Linked DNA regions of Homo sapiens: region 2 is linked to region 1. Evidence: promoter capture Hi-C in 16 types of primary human blood cells and fetal thymus (Javierre and others, 2016). All regions are on one chromosome and are shown on one strand. The core of a region is centred on a gene start or on the middle of the fragment in contact, and the rest is flanking DNA. Distances in the headings are between cores, read along the strand shown. Region 1 holds the start of C1orf74 (chromosome 1 open reading frame 74). Region 2 holds the start of ANGEL2 (angel homolog 2).

Region 1 (2,700 bases), core at 23-2,522:
ATCCACAAAGGCTATGGTACCAAGCAGCACCTGCTCCAAGTGCTGACATACATGCTCAGGACTGACAATCAGGCTGTTTTCTCCAATCTCAAGGATGTGAAGTCCAAAAGTCAGGAAGCCAAGCCCCTTCAGCTCCTCCAGATAGCTCTGGAGCTCTGATGCCCCTGCACAGTTGCAATCATAGAGCACAGCTGGCTTCAGTCCCCGGGCCACAGCCAGCACCTCTCCAGCTAAGTGAAGGCAGATGGCTTGGGGTGGACTCCGTCTCTTTCCCATGCCAAGGGTCTGCTGAGCAGCTGCCACCAGCAGCTGAGGGCTCGGTGATGACATGAGATCTAGAAGCAACATCAAGAATGGCCTCCTTAGCTAGCCCGAGTTCCCTTCCCTGGGTGGCATCTTTCAGCCAGACACTTGAGGAGGGGCCTAGAAACAAAGCAGGAGCAGGGAATTATTAACAGCCTTCCTGTTAAATCGCGGTATCTTCCAAAGGTTATTCTGTCCCTCCCTGCTTTGAAATGGCGACCCAGCCCAGACAAGATAGTTTCACCGATGCTGCTTGATTTTTCTGGTTGACTTGGTCTCCCTCAATCATAAATTCGTGTGTTTTTCTAGCCTTATAGCTAGATTTATATTCCCTCTGGCTTTTATTCTAAATTTCACCTGTTGCAAATTACGTTCTCTGGTTCAAACCGTAGGGAATTTGGGGCAGAGGCGGAGGCGGGGCAGTGTTTGGCAAAATTCACAGCATTTCGCCCAAAAGCCCTTCTGGGACAGAGCTCCAAGTTCCAAATGTATCCTTTCCACTGACAACTCCCCTACTCTTCCCGCCAGAGAATAGTTATAAGAATAGTAATTTGATTAATATACACCAGAATGTGGACTAACAACCATCTCACCCTGACACATAAAAATGAATGAATGAAATCCACTAGAACTGCAGAAGGGTAGTATTTTAACTTCTGCTGGCCCCGCCTTCCCTTTCTGTCCGACATCAAGGACCCTCGGAAGATGAGATTTCTCCGATCCACACACCCCACACCAGAGCATGTTATAGTGATTTGCTAAATGAGGCATAAGTCTGTCTCACATACGTTCTTTTTCCACGTCCGCTACAGGTTCGGGGGCTCAGAAACTTTTTGCGGCTTCCTGCCTGCTGCCAGAAAGGCAGCTAGTCCCCCACGCCCAGCCGCAAGTAACACTGGAAAACCCGCCTGCGCTGGGAAGACCCTCGCAGCCCGCTCTGCTCCAGTCCCGCAGGCACCTTCTTGCGCATGCGCACCCACTCGAGTGCCGCCCTCTTTCCCCCCATTCCGTGACGTCATCCAGCCGCTCGCGCGCCTCGCGTTAGAATCACTAGCTAGGCAGCCTTACTGCGCGCCGGAAGTTTGGGCCACCGTGCGGCCCGCCCTTTCCGGCCAGACTGAACGCGGCCCCATCTGTCGGCTTAGGAACTGGGAAGGGCGGAAGTAAACGAGAAAAGGCGGAACCTGGTGAAACTGGTTTCCCGCTGCTGCCCTCATTTTGCTTCGCCGAACGTCCTCCCTGTGTTATGACGTCTGGTGTCCCACTTGACTGGGAATCCAGAAACAGGGCACACAGCAGTTAATAAACACCTTTGATTTGTGTCTGTGGAAATACGTTTTGTCCAGACGAAACATACCTCAAGACAACATATTTTGCAGAATAGCCTCACCTGTGGGTGGTGCTGAAACGTTTTAATTTTTTTTAACTTGACTTCCCTAAATCCTACATTTGAGAGGCCTACAACAGCTCTCTAGGGAGGGTGTGAAGGTGTGAGTATTCACTTTGAACAAATATGTGCCAGTCATGCTGCTAGGCCCTGGAGGTACTGCAGTGAGCAAAACAGACAAAACCCCCACTTTCATGGGGCTTAAGTTCATGTCTACTGAATCCAGTTTGCTGATTTCAAATAAGAAATGAGAAGTGATGACACAGAGGCTTTCCAGTCAGGTCATTACAAAGAAAAAGTGTTATTTCACGTAAGAGTTAACACCTTTTTAACTACCAGCGATTTGACCCATGCCACGAAGGGAAAGGATTTCTTGAGAAAACCCCAATATCTAAGGAAATGGCCCCAATTTATTTATACTTGGAGCAGGACAGAGATTAAGGGAACAGTGGACACCTACACTGGAGTTGTCACTCCTGGATCTATCTTGGTGGTGCCTTCAGTCCATGAAAAGTGAATTGTACAGTAAAGATGGGGTCAGCATGGGAGGAGGACCAGCTTATAGGAGTTACCAGCCTAAGGCTGTCTGGTTCTTAGCTCAGAGGGAATCAGAAGCTGAGAGTAGAAAGTAGTCTTCTAATTTTAGAACGTTTTCCTTCCCCGCATTTATTTAATTTTCCCATGGTGGTTAACAGTAAATCCCTAAAAGACTGATTTAGTTCATTCATTTATTCCAGCAACAAATATTTGAGAACACACTGTGTCCCAGACACTGTTCTAAGGACTGGCAGCGAAGTCCAAGACAAACAGTCCCTACCTTCAGCAAGTTTGCAGTCAAGCAGGATGCGGATGCTGAGCATTACAAGGGAAATGATTATTCTGAGAGAGGAAGTATGGGGTGCTATGGGAACATACAACCAGGGACCTAATTTTATGGGAAAGGGACCAGCCCAGATCCAACACTTGCTCTCCCAGTTTACCTCCAGTAGGTTCTTTTTAACTTGAACTAA
Region 2 (2,806 bases), core at 305-2,804, 3.2 Mb after region 1:
GCTCCCATCCCTAAGGGAATTTTGTTTAAGTTGCGTTTACTGTTATTTAACTTTATACGCTGTTATTCTCGTTTTAACAGCATTTAAATTTTTATTATAATTTTTACAGTTTAAGTATTCGCTAGTTGTTCTCTAAAATCTACTTAATTGTAAATCTTTAAAGGCATAACATGGGCATTCTACACTGCTTTGTGATAACTCTGAAAGCCATAGGAATTTGGGCACTTGGTCCATGCATTTTCTATGCTAATAAGCCACTGTATTGAAATATAATACTTGTACTACAAAAGCTATTATCTATATTTGCAGTTATTTATTCAGACTTTTTTTTCTCTTAAGATGTTAAGCTCCTTCAGGGCCAGAACAGAACCGTCTTATTCATTTTAATTCCGTTATCTTCACAAGTGCCTAGCACAGTGCCTGGCAAACAGCTGGTACTCAGGAAACATTGTTGAACTGAATTACCATCAAGTCCCAGGCCTATGGGAGTTACAACCAAATCCCCATCGCTTATGTAATAATACATGCTGTGTTTCCCAAGCGTGGTGGGTGGTACACGAGTCGGTTTCACAGAGTACACAGTTAAATTACTTGATTGTAATTTCTAAATACTTATGTTAGTTTATTAGGAAAAAACATAATCGCACATCAAATCCAAGACTCTGCAGACACTGCTTAGGGTGAAGCTAATGTGGGCAGCACCTACTGAAGTGCTTTTTAAAAAAAACTGAGTCAATTTAAAGAAAAATATCCAGTAAATAATACACGTGAAACAAGAACTTGGCCATAACAGTAAGGGATGACATACAAGTGACTAAAGTTTGAAAGACACTAACACATCAACAAAAATCAAGCCCCTCCTGGGCGTGTGCCACACACGCGCCTCCAAGGGATCAGGCCCGCCGAGACCTACTGCGGAGAGGCGGCCTCCCCGCCGACGCTCGGTTCCCGGGACGGTGCTGCGGAGTGTGTGGAGCAGGCCAGCGCTGGTCTGGAGGCTGGGTTGGGGGAAGCAGGCCAGGGATCCAAAGCCACTGGCACAAGCCTGGCCGGCGGCCCATGAACTCCGCGCCAAGACCCCAGACCTCGTTGGCCCAGCGTCCCGCCAGCTGCGCGGCGGGTTTACCTATCCCGCTTGGTCTCTGGAGGCTCGTCCCGGATGCACCATCGCCCAGACCCTCTTCCTCTTCCTTCCACCCCTAGCCCGCCCCGCCCCGCCCCGGGTTAGTCCCGGACGCCCGCCCGCTCTTTCAGGCCGCCCGCCCCTCTCTCCTCCCTCCGAGTACCCAGCCCTACTGACCGGCCTCTTCCCACCACACAGTGGCCGTAGCCCTTCCTCACACAGCGCCAGGCTTCCATCTTCGCCCTCCGCGTGCGTCCAGTTCCCAGGCCCCGGGTTCCACCTCAATCTCTATAATCGATGCGACGGCCTAAAGTATCTAGGGAACCCCATCACTCTTAAGTACCGACTCCAGTCCTGGCTGCAAGGCATGCTGGGAGGTGCAGTCTCGCCGGCCGGCCTACACTCCATCTTGCGCAGTCAGAGTCCCTGAATGCCTTAACCCGGAATTCTGCTCAAGGAGCATGCGCAGAGCGTGGGACGCGCGTGCAACCATTTCTGAAGAGGGCAAAACACCCGAACTTCGTCTTAAAGAAACAGAAATAAACTTTCTTTTTTTTCTTTTTCTTTCTTTCTTTCTTTTTTTTTTTTTGAGATGGAGTTTCGCTCTTGTCGCCCAGGCTGTAGTGCAATGGCACGATCTCGGCTCACTGCAACCTCCACCTCCCGGGTTCAAGCGATTCTCCTGCCTCAGCCTGCCAAGTAGCTGGGATTACAGGCATGAGCCACCACACCCGGCTAATTTTTGAATTTTTAGTAGAGACAGGGTTGCACCATGTTGGCCAGGCTGGTTTCGAACTCCTGACCTCAAGTGATTCGCCCGCCTCGGCCTCCCAAAGTGCTGGGATTACAGGAGTGAGCTACCGCGCCCGGCAGAAATAAACAGAGCAGTGAAAATTTTTAATTGCCCAAAGTGCAGATTCCCAGCTGAGGCTGAACAACGCATCCTCTGGGTGCCCATGGAACTGAGGTACCACAGAATTTTGCAATTAATGTTGCGGAAGCACAGCCATAGCTCTCACTTTAAAATGTACGTGTATGGGCCGGGCGCGGTGGCTCACGCCTGTAATCCCAGCACTCTGGGAGGCCAAGGCGGGCGGATCACGAGGTCAGGAGATCGAGACCATCCTGGCTAACACGGTGAAACCCCGTCTCTACTAAACATACAAAGAATTAGCCGGGCGTGGTGGCGGGCGCCTGTGGTCCCAGCTACTCGGGAGCCTGAGGCAGGAGAATGGCGTGAACCTGGGAGGCAGAGCTTGCAGTGAGCAGAGATCGAGCCACTGCACTCCAGCCTGGGCGACAGAGCGAGACTCCGTCTCAAAAAAAAAAAAAAAAAAAAAAAAAGTACTTGTATGTCTTGTGTGTCCACCTTTATTAAATGTATTATAGGACTGTAGATTGTTGAAAGACATTATTTAAGTGGAGACCCTGCAAGAAACAGGAAGAGAGAAACCGAGAAAGAATAAAGTGTGGAGAGTAGAGGGGAAAAGGATACTAGAAGGCAGGAGCACTGCTTTTATAGGCTCTTTGAAACAGTGGTAATTTCTTGGGAAGGCTTTTCTTATCCCTGGTGCATAAAAGGAAGTAAAGTGTATTTGAAAAAAACCTTTCCCTCAGTATGTAATTGATTCTTGTTATTTGCAGTAGTTAGGTTCTGTAAAGTTGCTGGAAACACTGAATTAG

Evidence for each region. Contacts are between HindIII fragments. The CHiCAGO score rates a contact against its expected background, and 5 or more counts as called.
Region 2: a contact is called between the fragment with the promoter of ANGEL2 here and the fragment with the promoter of C1orf74 in region 1, in 3 of 17 cell types (non-activated CD4 T cells, total CD4 T cells and naive B cells). The highest score is 7.8, in non-activated CD4 T cells.

Annotation. Positions count from the first base shown.
Region 1 is chr1:209,783,287-209,785,986 of GRCh38, forward strand. It overlaps C1orf74 (chromosome 1 open reading frame 74), which reads right to left and starts at 1,273. Exons shown (of 2, transcript NM_152485.4): 1 at 1,092-1,273; 2 at 1-423. The coding sequence starts at 348. IRF6 (interferon regulatory factor 6) reads right to left here. Exons shown (of 9, transcript NM_006147.4): 9 at 2,331-2,700. RefSeq lists enhancers at 978-1,595, 1,152-1,411, 1,596-2,211. The HindIII fragment of the contact is 4,418 bases long and covers 1-2,700 here.
Region 2 is chr1:213,014,313-213,017,118 of GRCh38, forward strand. ANGEL2 (angel homolog 2) reads right to left here and starts at 1,555. Exons shown (of 9, transcript NM_144567.5): 1 at 1,301-1,555. The coding sequence starts at 1,359. RefSeq lists enhancers at 392-980, 981-1,568, 1,281-1,590. The HindIII fragment of the contact is 5,816 bases long and covers 1-2,806 here.